3 separate regions of the Homo sapiens genome follow, and all the other regions are linked to region 1. Evidence: promoter capture Hi-C in 16 types of primary human blood cells and fetal thymus (Javierre and others, 2016). All regions are on one chromosome and are shown on one strand. The core of a region is centred on a gene start or on the middle of the fragment in contact, and the rest is flanking DNA. Distances in the headings are between cores, read along the strand shown. Region 1 holds the start of SH3BGRL2 (SH3 domain binding glutamate rich protein like 2). Region 2 overlaps HMGN3 (high mobility group nucleosomal binding domain 3). Region 3 overlaps HMGN3 (high mobility group nucleosomal binding domain 3).

The links. The method cuts DNA at HindIII sites, captures the fragments that hold promoters and counts their contacts. A CHiCAGO score of 5 or more calls a contact.
Region 2: a contact is called between a fragment that was not itself captured here and the fragment with the promoter of SH3BGRL2 in region 1, in 1 of 17 cell types (megakaryocytes). The highest score is 5.1, in megakaryocytes.
Region 3: a contact is called between a fragment that was not itself captured here and the fragment with the promoter of SH3BGRL2 in region 1, in 1 of 17 cell types (megakaryocytes). The highest score is 7.0, in megakaryocytes.

The regions. Positions count from the first base shown.
Region 1 is chr6:79,629,732-79,633,618 of GRCh38, forward strand. It overlaps SH3BGRL2 (SH3 domain binding glutamate rich protein like 2), which reads left to right and starts at 1,598. Exons shown (of 4, transcript NM_031469.4): 1 at 1,598-1,775. The coding sequence starts at 1,731. The HindIII fragment of the contact is 2,885 bases long and covers 1,297-3,887 here.
Region 2 is chr6:79,202,496-79,206,382 of GRCh38, forward strand. It overlaps HMGN3 (high mobility group nucleosomal binding domain 3), which reads right to left. Exons shown (of 7, transcript NM_001201363.2): 4 at 1,085-1,135. Among named protein-coding and RNA genes, the nearest start is that of HMGN3-AS1, 29 kb to the right of the region's middle. RefSeq lists an enhancer at 3,567-3,887. The HindIII fragment of the contact is 761 bases long and covers 1,652-2,412 here.
Region 3 is chr6:79,223,022-79,226,908 of GRCh38, forward strand. All of the region lies in intron 1 of HMGN3 (high mobility group nucleosomal binding domain 3), which reads right to left. Among named protein-coding and RNA genes, the nearest start is that of HMGN3-AS1, 8.7 kb to the right of the region's middle. The HindIII fragment of the contact is 373 bases long and covers 2,056-2,428 here.

The sequences.
Region 1 (3,887 bases), core at 348-2,847:
ATTAGTACAGTGTGTCTTGTTCTGTCACTATTTCTGTATCTGTCTTTTTCTTTCCTAGACAATAGGTGCTCTGCTGACAGAGAAATGACTCGTTCAACTTTTTATCCATTCTTGTACCTTTCACAGAGTAGGCTCTGAGTTCCAATTATTTGAGTTTAACTATATCTTCATAGCTGAATAATTCCAAACTGAAGAAAATGCTGACTTTTATAAAGATTTGCATTTATATAGGAAATACGGTATCTACTTTTAAGAAAATTATTTTCTATTTTATAAACGTGCATTTCCACATTTATGGTAGCAAAATTAAAGTACATTTGCCGAGAGATACTAAAGACAGCAAAACTTCTATTTAAAATTTTAAACACGAAGAAGAAATAAAGTCCCATTAGGAGTGTCTCTTCTATTATTGAAGGAAATTTAAAAAGATTCCTACTACAGAAATGGCTTTAAGAAAAGCAATAGGAAAGGTTATAAATTTGAAATATTCATAACTGTTCTAAAAAATACTTCATAATGATTGCTCTTTGTGCAAGAAATGTATCAAAGAGCCAGAGACCTCATCATCTAATTTCTTACTTTTTCTTAATTAACATTGTTCCCAGACCTCTGCTAAACTCCCGTGTTGAAAGGAAAAAAGTAAATACAGTACAGCAGGGAAAACTGGTTCCTTTCGACAAAACTGAGAGAGAGGCTTGAGCTTTTGTCAAACAGAAAGCACTTGATAAAAAACTATTCCTAAACTATTAGCAACTATATAGAAGCTTTTTATTTAACAGCATCCTCCTGGGAAACTGCGCTGGAATGTGCAGCGGTTCTGAAAAAGGCACAGATTTGGCTGAACTGTAAATATTAGGTGCACAGAGGCGAAGCCATTGTGTAGGGAGGGGTGGGGCAGGTAGGGTCCTGATTTCCAATGTTGATAGAAGGATTCCAATTTCGTTTGGTATTTATTTTTTTCTACTACAATTACAGTTTTGCTGAGAAAAATAAAATATTGGTTGTGCTTCCATCTGGGTTTCTAATTTTCAGTGTGTACAGACAAGAGAAGACCTCTCATTTACCCAAAAGAATCACCTTTCTGCAATCTCCAGTGCTACTGGACAAACAAACGAGCCCAACCCCACCGCCCACACCTCCCAAGCACCCGGCTCGCCGATCCCGCCTGCTTCAGGTAGCTGGGGTTTGCCCGGTACGCCAGCGGCCCTGAGACGATGTGTGCCCGCAGCACGATCGTGTCTGTTGGCATTTCTGGGTGTGGATGCTCCAAACCAATAAACCACAATACAGAACCCAAGCTTGGACTTTGAACCGAGCCCTTTTGCCTAGTTTGCTTTTTCCTCATCAAGCCAGGATCCTTGCCAACCCACCTCACAGCTTCTGCCCGGGCTGTGGCTCCCCTCCAGCCACCTGCGCGTGTTCGGGATAGAAGCGCGGTCAGGAGGGGAGCTCAGTCCACCAGCCACTCCAGGGAGAGACGGAAACTACAAATCCCATCAAGCCCCGCAGCCGGCTCCCTCCTCCTCCCTCTCCTTCCCCTTCAGCCTGCGGCCGGGCGGCGCTGGGCTTTTATCTGCGGACCCGCCGGGAGGGAGCCAGATCCCAGCGATCTTCCCCGACGGCAGCGCTTTACCCAGAGGCTGCCGGCGGCTCGTAGCTGGGTTCAGCTCTGCGTCCACGCCAGCCCGGAGCCCGGGGGGCAAGGGGTCTGTCCCGGGCGCAGCGAGAGGATGGTCATCCGCGTGTTCATCGCCTCTTCCTCGGGCTTCGTGGCGGTGAGCGCGGTGGGGGCGGGCAGTAGGTTGGGGTCGCGGGGCGCGGGTCCTGCGGGAGGCGCGCGGCGCTCGTCACTGCGCGTCCTTGCGCTCAGCCGGTCCGCCCGCGGGAGCCCGCGCCCGGCAGGTGATCCATCACACTCCGACAACAATGAAGAGGGCGGGGAGGAAAGGTGGGTGGGGGACCCCGGCCTCACCCAAATGCCCACCCTGCGTGGCCTGAAAGGCAGACAACGCGGCCTGAAAATGGAGTCCGAGGGAAGCCCCCAGCTCCTGTTGTGTGGCATGGAAATTTGGGGAACGGGTTGTTCAAGAGCTTCGGGGATCCCCCTTCCCCTAGTTTAGTTCTTCCCGATTTGGGACCTTCAGACTGGTTATGTTTTGCACGGGAGCCTTTTCTGCTGCTTTGGTTTGTTACCCTAGCTCCTGAATGAAGCAAGTTTAAGTGGGAATTGCTCTCTGTCCTCCCTTCCCCGCCAGCAAGTGCATTTGTTTAGTTTTATACCTGCGCAAAGAGAATAGTAAAACTAGGTTTGTCCTGTTGTGGTAGGATTGTTTGCTTTCACTGTCATTTTTTTTCTTAGGGTGCCATAAATATTTTTACATCTTTATGTAAATGTGTGTGTATGCACGCATTTTCTTTCCACCTGTAATGCTGTGGAAATTTTATCCTGGGGATCTATGAATTGTGGTTTTCTATTTAATTATTTTTAGCTATTCTCTTTGGTGGATGTTCTTGAATTTTTTTAGAGAAAAAAAATTTTTTTAAAGAAAGGAAAGTTAAATAGCTAGAGATGTCAGAATTTAAGGAAAATTCAGTAGTTAGTATATTTGACAGCCCACTAAGGGACATAGCACATGTGTTTTACATGATTATTGAGACTTGGTTTCCTTAACCAAGAGTTCAGCTATAGATTTAAGAGCCTCCTTTGTGACATATATAATCAAGTAACATCAAAAAGTGCATTGTAGATTGCTTAAATTTGGTCTGGTCAATTGTCTGCCCAGTAGCTCAGTCAGATTGTTCCAAAATTTGTTTCTTAAGTGGGTGGAGTGGAGGATGGAATAAAATATTGTTTGAAAATCCTTGTACACCACTGAAGTTTTTTATTTAAAAAGAAACCAACACGATCATACAAAGCCCCTCCACCCCCATTTGCACTAGAAACAATAGATGGGAAAATCCAACTTACACTTATGTGCAGTCATGTTGGGGTCCTCAGACTTCTGACAGTTTCTGGTGTTTCTAGCTATTTGGGTTGCTTAGTCATGCCTGCCTTTTGTAGATTTCCCCACTGAAGCCACACTTCATGTGTTTGCAAACTGGCACTGTTTCAAGGGTAGATTTGTTCAAATGCACTCCTTACTAAGAATGCTACAAAGCTCTTGGTTTCACCACCGACTTGCATGCTTCAATAATTGTCCCAATAGCATTATATTGATTATGGAAGGAATGGTTTTTATCCCTTCCACAAGAGATAAAGCCTAGGCTACTTTGGAGCAAGTCGGACCAAGTCAAGGTAATGACTTGGCTTACTCTATTAGTAGGTAGTATATTGAGATAGTTTTGGTACTCCACATCTTTGTTTTTTCAGTGCCATTGGCAAATATTTATTGCCTGCCTGCTGTGTGCCTTTTTAACTTTTAAATTTAATGTTTTGTGTTTTGCACATGGAGCTAAAATTAAGAGACTTAAGTTTTAGTGTGGGCCCCAACTAGTGCAGTGTAAGCCTGGTTAAGGTACCTCATCTCTGCCTGAGTTTCTCTTCTGTAAAATGAAGGATTTTCATGGATAACTCAGAATTGCACACTCTAGCTTTAAAGTATTTTGACTTCACCAGGTGAGTAAATATGGATGAATCCTTATAACAGCTTCTTTTGCTTGAACAATATACCTACCTATTAGTCTCAAGGTAATAGGTATACCTATACCTATTAGTATAATACCTATTAGTATAATAATATACCTATTAGTCTTCTTTCCTTGGACATTTTATTGTGAAGGCTCAGATCCCCTCAATGCCCTGCCTCGTAGCATGTGTTCTGACATGGTTTCATTTGAGTTAGAAGACATACACAGTTACCACATGCTTACAGACTATAAACACTAAT
Region 2 (3,887 bases), core at 782-3,281, 430 kb before region 1:
ATCATGGTGGCCTTTATGGAGACACGGGAGCCTAATTTTGCTGGGTTTCAACTGAGTTACACTGCACAAATATGAGTCTCTGTGAAAATGTAGTAACAGGTTGCACAGAAAGTCCAGTGTACTTTCTCTTCTGTGGAAAACACAATGATTCCTCTCCTGGATTTGTTCAGTGGACCTCCCCTCCAGTAAGGGGAGAAGTGGTTCTGCCATGGAGAGAGCAGCTGCAGGACTTGGGGAAGGAGGAAGCAGAGCTGGGGAAGAACCCAGCCAGGGGGTGGCTCTGTGGCTGCTTTCCAATGAACCCCTCACGTGGAGACATGTGGCTTGCATGACTAGAAAGCTGGGAAGGTGCAGGGAAATGAAGCCCAGATGAAGAAAAGTTCCTAATTTTAAGACCAAACAACAAAAGTGAGTTCTGTTTCTGAAATCACCTACTCATGCCACTATACACATAAGTTTTAAACAATTCACATGGGACAATACCAAAGGGCAGAGTGCAGAAAAGCCATTTTGGGTAAGTTCCCTAAGAATTCTGTACCTCAGTTTCCTCATCTGCAAAACAGGATATTTGTATCTACTTCAACAGAGTTGATGTGAAGGTCATATGAGTAAAGCAATCAACCTTATCTGCCATACTATAAGGGCCTTATAAATGCCAATATTACCTGCTGGCATTATTATATTATTATTATTAGACCTCAGACTGGCCTGCGAAATCCAGTTAGATGAAGTCAGAAGCCCCTTCCCAAATTCCTCCCATAGTGGGGCAGTGCTGCCAGGGCCCAAACTCATCCCCGCTGTGTGCCGCATGAACCGCATGTTCACGAGGCTGCTGCCAAACCCCCTTCGGACATGAGGCTTCTCAGAGCAACATCTCTGACTTCCCGTGCCTCACTGACCAAATGGAAAACACACTCCTATTAACGCAGAAAACTGTGCTTTATGCCTTTAAGCAAGCCCGTAACAGTGGTAATGGTTTCAGTTTGGATCATTAAATACGGCCTTTCTTTGAATGATTCTGAGGTAGGGAATTATAATTTATTCATTGTTTAAAAAGCCAAAAGTGGGAAACAGCACTTCTTACCTTAGCAGATGTTTTTCTTGGTTTGGGTTCAGGTTTTGGTGGAGCAGGTTTCTGCAAAGATAATTTAAATTACACAAATACTGAAAAAAAAAAAAAACTATCAGCACCAAAAGAAACACAAAAGGACTAACAAAGACAACTATCCATTTTGACATGGCTTTGGTCATTAAAAAGTATTTCATCCTATTTTCAGCACCAGGTAACAGCATAAAGATCTCTGCATTTCATAACTATTTTCACCCTGGGTTCACAAGGGAACTGCAGGTGAGATTGAAAAGCCGACTCCTTATTCCCTGGTCCAGAATAGCTCTCCGGGAACAGGTCTAAGCTTCTATCTCCAATGTGTCTGCTCTTCCTTTTATCACAGCACAGCAGCAAGAGGAATGACTCAGGCCCATGGCCAAAGGACTCAATGAATTCAGTTGCACTGGCCTTCCTAACAGTCTAGAAATCACAGCACAATCACTAGCAAAGCCCAACTGGTAATGAAGACTGCTGCCTGTGAAGTATTTCAAAATCACTTCCAAATCCTTCCACTTCTAATGTAGATTTCGAGTTCTGTTGCCAAGCTTCTTCCTACTTTTATTCTCCCCAATGCCAGCTCAAGGTGAGAATCTCTTGTCTAACCAGATATGCTGGGCTCATTTGTGTCTAAAGGTTTTTATTGAGAACATCATTATAATGATAAAATGTCTACTGTTAGCTCCCAAAGTTTAAATTTTTCACAGATATTATTAGCCAAACAGTCCCCTAGGAAACTATTTTTCTCTTGCCTCATGTGGTCCTCCTCCAGTTCCCATGAGCAGCACCTGCACACCGTGTGACCATGGACCCTCTGCCACACAATGCTTCAGCCCTGGCCAGCTTCCCAGGGGCCTGAGACCAGGTGGCACATGCGGATAACTGGGGAAAGATAACCATTTTACACCAGGAGTTTTCTGTGGATATTTTAGGGCAAATATTTCTCTCATAGAACTAGAAAAAAGTGTACATCTCTCCTGGCACTAGAAGAATGGTTTTAAAATAGAAAACACTGGCCAGGGTCTCCCCCTATGGAGAAAAATACATGTTCCTCCCTAGTGCCTCTAGGTAATTCACGTTCACACTGAATCTGCCCCTTTTCATCAAGGGCATAAAGTGAAATTGTAGACAGTTTGATTTCAGAAGATTGGCTGTTAGAAATGACCTTTCAAATAAAAAAAGAAAATCGAGCTTGAAAAGTTAAGAAATGTTTTTATTAATCTTCTTATCACCCTAAATCTGCAGGCCAAATACAGCAGCTTTCATGGCTCTTACATTTTCAGAATTTAAAACATTTTGTCATCCTAAGCTTTGATATACTGTATTAATATACATGTTTTCTCCATTTACAGTAAACAATTTCCTTTTATATTATTTTCTGTAGGACAGACCTTTCCCTCTGACCCAGCATTCAAGTGTTTTGATAGGACCAGGAAATGAGGTTTTGTAGTCTGTAATCCTGCTGGCCTCTGAGGAGGCTCTGTTTCGGTAGCACAGGGAATGATCTCAGTGGAAGGTGCTTATATTGCTGGTTTCTGGTGCTCAGGAAAAGCTTTGTTTTAAACTTTGGTTTTCATTTGACTTACAAGGTCTGTTCCCTTAACTGCCTGGAGATTCACAACAGCAACCCCAGCTCTTAAGTCCTCCTAGTGACTGACACCTCTTCCTAATATGGTTTAGCTGTGTCCCCACTCAAATCTCATCTTGAATTGTAACTCCTACAACTCCCATGTGTCATGTGAGGAACCCAGTGGGAGGTGATTGAATTATGGGGGTGGGTCTTTCCTGCACTGTTCTCATGATTAGTGAATGAGTCTCATGAGATCTGATGGTTTTAATAACAGGAGTTTCCCCGCACAAGCGCTCTCTCTCTTTGCCTGCCACCATCCACGTAAGACATAATTTGCTCCTTTTGTCTTTCTCCATGATTGTGAGCCTTCCCCAGCCACATGGAACTGTAAGTCCAATTAAACCTTTTTCTTTTGTAAATTGTCCAGTCTTGGGTATGTCTTTATCAGCAGCGTGAAAATGGACTAATACAGTAAATTGGTACCAGAAGAGTGGGGCACTGCTGAAAGATAATGAAAATGTGGAAGTGACTTTAGAACTGGGTAACAGACAGAGGTTGGAACAGTTTGGAGCGCTCAGAAGAAGACAAGAAAATGTGGGAAAGTTTGGAACTTCCTAGAGACTTGCTGAATGACTGTGACCTTTCCTAAAGATTTGTTGAATGGCTTTAACTAAAATGCTTATAATGATATTGACAATGAAATCCAGGCAGAGGTGGTCTCAGATAGAGATGAGGAACTTGTTAAGAACTGGAGCAAAGGTGACTCTTGTTACGTTTTAGCAAAGAGACTGGCAACATTTTGCCCCTGGTCTAGAGATTTGTGGAACTTTGAATTTGAGAGAGATGATTTAGGGTATCTGGTGGAAAAAATTTCAAAGCAGAAAAGCATTCAAGAGGTGACTTGGGTGCTGTTAAAGGCAATCAGTTTTAAAAGGGAAACAGAGCAGAAAAGTTTAGAAAATTTGCAGCCTGGCAATGCGAAAGAAAAGAAAATCCCATTTTCTGAGCTGAGGAGAAATTCAATCCGGCTGCAGAAATTTGCATGAGTAATGAGGAGCCAAATGTTATGCACAAGACAATGGGAAAAATGTCTCCAGGGCACGTGACAGACCTTTGCAGCAGCCTCTCCCATTACAGGCCCAGAGTTTAGGAGGAAAAAATGGCTTCGTGGGCCTGACCCAGGGTCCCTCTGCTCTGTGCAGTCTAGGGACT
Region 3 (3,887 bases), core at 992-3,491, 410 kb before region 1:
GTTCAGTGAAACTTTATTAGTGTAAATACACACAATTCAATAATTAGGGTTTATATTTAATATTAAGGAAATATAGGCCAGGCACAGTGGCTCACATCTGTAATCGCAGCACTTTGGGAGGCTGAGGAGGGCAGATCACTTGAGGCCAGGAGTTCGAGACCAGCCTGGCCAACATGGCAAAATCCGTCTCTACTAAAAATACACACAAGGCTAGGTACAGTGGCTCAGGCCTATAATCTTAGCACTTTGGGAGGTCGAGGCAGGCGGATCATGAGGTCGGGAGATGGAGATCATCCTGGCTGACACGGTGAAACCCCATCTCTACTAAATATACAAAAAATTAGCTGGGCCGGGTGGCATATGCCTGTAGTCCTAGCTACTCAGGAGACTGAGGCAGGAGAATTGCTTGAACCTGGGAGGCAGAGGTTGCAGTGAGCCGAGATCGCGCCACTGCATTCCAGCCTGGGTGACAGAGCGAGACTCTATCTCAACAAACAAACAAACACACACACAAACAAACACCCACAAAAAACAATTAGCTGGGCATGGTGGCACATGCCTGTAATCCCAGATACTTGGGAGGCTGAAGTGTGGGAATCGCTTGACCCTGGGAGGTGGAGGCTGCACTGCACTCTAGCCTGTCTTGTCTCAAAAAAAGAAAGAAGTTTAAATATTTTAAACCTCTTTGGTCTGAGCTGTCCCTTTCACTAGAGTTACCTTTTTTTTTTTTTATGTGCTGTGGTTTTGTACAAACATGGCCATGCAGAAAGCACGTGGCTCAATCAGAAGCCTGAATTCCAGTCTGGCTCACACCTGACTTCTCTAGACTTGAGTTTCTTCACCAGTAAAACTAGTTAAGATGGACCTTAAGATCTCACTCACCTGACTAACTTAGCTACTTGTGTACTTATTTATCACACTATAGAAGTGCCATGTGTACATCATGGGAATGCCAAGCACTGGGGTATCAGGAAAGCAAAGGAAAAGGAGCACAGCAGAATAATGAAGATGTGTACTGCAATTATGTGCAAGGCAATGATTGAAATGATTTAATCTTCACCGCAATCTTATGAGGTTGGTAAAACATGATTATATCCATTTTATTAACTAGGAATTGTGGCCAGAGAGGTTGAATAACTTGCCCAAGATTAGTCAGCTGGTAATCTTGCTGGTAAGTATTAACAGAAGAGCTGGAATTCAGCTCTTCTAGGCTGGCTCAAAGTTCATACTCTTATCCACTACACCATTCAAAGTGGTTTGTGTTAAGTGTTCTTAATTTCAAAACTGGGTGCAGATCTGGGATTCTAGAAGAGCAAAAGCCTTCCAGCTTGGGAAATGCTTTAACCTGTAGCCCTAGCCAAAGAACAAATGATATGTAAAGGAGTGCTTCCTATTCTCCATCATTCATGAGCCTCTTGAAATAATAACAAACAATAACCTATTAAAAATAGTTTATGTTGAGTTGAACAAAATTTTAGTATTATTCTGGGTTTTTAAAAAGTCATACGCACGGATCTGGTTGTTTTTATCTCAGTATTGAAACCAAAAACATACACCAAATCATCTATAATTTTTTGTAGTACTTTACATGTTCAGTGTGCTTCCATATGGTTGTTGCATTTGATGCTTTCAATATTTCTGAGATAAACAGGGGCACAGTCTTAATATTTCCATTGTACAGATGAAGAGTAGAGCTTCCAAGACGTCAAGTGACCTTCCCGAGGTAAAAAGTGGCAGAATTCACACTAGACCAAAGTCTCTGTATTGTTATAACAGGGCTCTTAAAAGAGATGTTACCAGATGGTTACTTTATTATTTTCCTGTTTGCTCGGACATACATTAACTTCTGGCAAATGGTAAACACAGTTATGATGTTCCTTGTATTTTTGCAAAACTAATCAGCTGGCTGTAATGTGATCTACATATGGTTGCTTAGGACAAATAAAATTAAAAATTGTAATTAAGGGGTAAAGTAAAGCAATGAGAAGTAGTCAGAATATAGTTTGTTAAAAAATGTATTAAATAAAATACATATGGAACTTAAGGAGCCTTTAAAGCTTCACATTTTGATAACTTCGTCTTTGGTACGTTTTCTCCCATATACATCATGCCTTACTTTTCATACCATGAATTTCTACAATATAGAACTTAACTAATTCTGTCCAATATTATAAAAACATCCCACAGTTTCCACCTAAGAAAGAGACAAAGAGTGAGCAAAAAGTAAAAGAAATAAGAAAACCAATACCTCTCAGGGTAGATTTTGTATTTCATTGTATGGGGTCAAAATAATCAAAATATAATTTTAAAATATCACTTGTACATTTAAAAAATAACATCTGAAATAAAACATTAGTCAACTGGTAATCTAGCACACCTAAATAAAAATCCATCCAGTCCTAGGTCCAGTGGATTTTCCTAGCTATTAAGCTTTTATTCTTCACGAGTTCCAAAAACAAAAGCATCTACTTATTTTTTAAACCCAGTCCCTAAGTAATGACAGCTTAATATTTACATTAAAATCCCTCAATATATTGTATAATATGCAAGCGTATTTACATGTTCCTGTTCACAAGGGAGTATTCCCATTATTCTATATATAGCAAATTGATGAAGACAATGTATCATGGAAGTAGCAAATCCAGCAGTTCACAGTGGAATCTGAGAAAATTATAAAGAGTCAGACTTTTAATACTCTAAACAATCAATATTTAGGTGAGGAAACTGCATATGTGTATCTTGTCTACAACCCTACAGTCCACTAGTTACTGAAATACCTAGAAGATTTCATGGTAATGCTCCTCTCTTACCAAGAACAGAACTGCACCCTGAGGCCAGCCTTAGGGCAGGATCACAAATAATAATGACTTGTTGGGTAACTTTCTACAACAGGCATTTAGAAACCATGGCACCAGCCTATATTGTAATAAAGATATTTTAAACAAATGAACACTCATGTTTACGTAACTCTTGATTCCTCCATGTTTCATTCATTAGGCACTGTAGTTAAAATAAAAATACATGTGGTTATTAGAAATAAACATATACAGAAAGTATTATGGTGTAATAGTTAACAGCAAAATTCCTGAGTAAAAGAGGGCTTGGTTAGAATGCTGGTTCTATCACTTCCTAGCTGTGTGACCCAGAGGAAATTTGTTAATCTCACTAAATCCCAATATTTTCCTCTGTGTTTGAGAAAGGCTGCAGGGTTCACTGGTTAAGATCACAGGCTCTGCAGCCAGACTTCAGGAGTGAAATCCCAACTCAGCCATTCCTTATCACAGGTGCTGTGGGGAAGTCTGTTAACCTCTTGGTGCTTCAATTTTCTCATATGTAAAATGAGAACGGGAAACGGACACACCTTACTGGGTGGTTGGAAGAATTAATATTATTAATGCAAAGTGCTAAAAACAGTCTGACTCATAGAAAGAGACCTCTTTCTTAGCTGTGAGATGAAATTGCTTCATTAAACTGTTGTGAGAATAAAATGAAAAATGAAATTATAGTATATACTTCTCTCGCATTTATTTCTAATAATTTCACATTTTTATTTAAACTAAGGTGCATTATGAATACAAAACACGTATCTCAGGTCTGGTACACCCAGGCATTCAGGAAATAGCTCGATTTTGATATTAATTCAATTTTAATAGTAGTAAGTATATTTGTGTTAATTACTGACATTTCTCTTAAAATATTAAATTTTGGAGCCAATTTCGAAGTTTAAAACCATTTTTCTATCTTCCTACTTCTGAATGTGCATATCATTTACTTTATGTGTGACTGAATATGTATTTGCCTTGGGCATATCTCAATAGCCCTGTTTCTGGATATGCCCACAGGGTAGAAGAATACTGGATTCAATAAATAGCTTGACCAAGAACCCC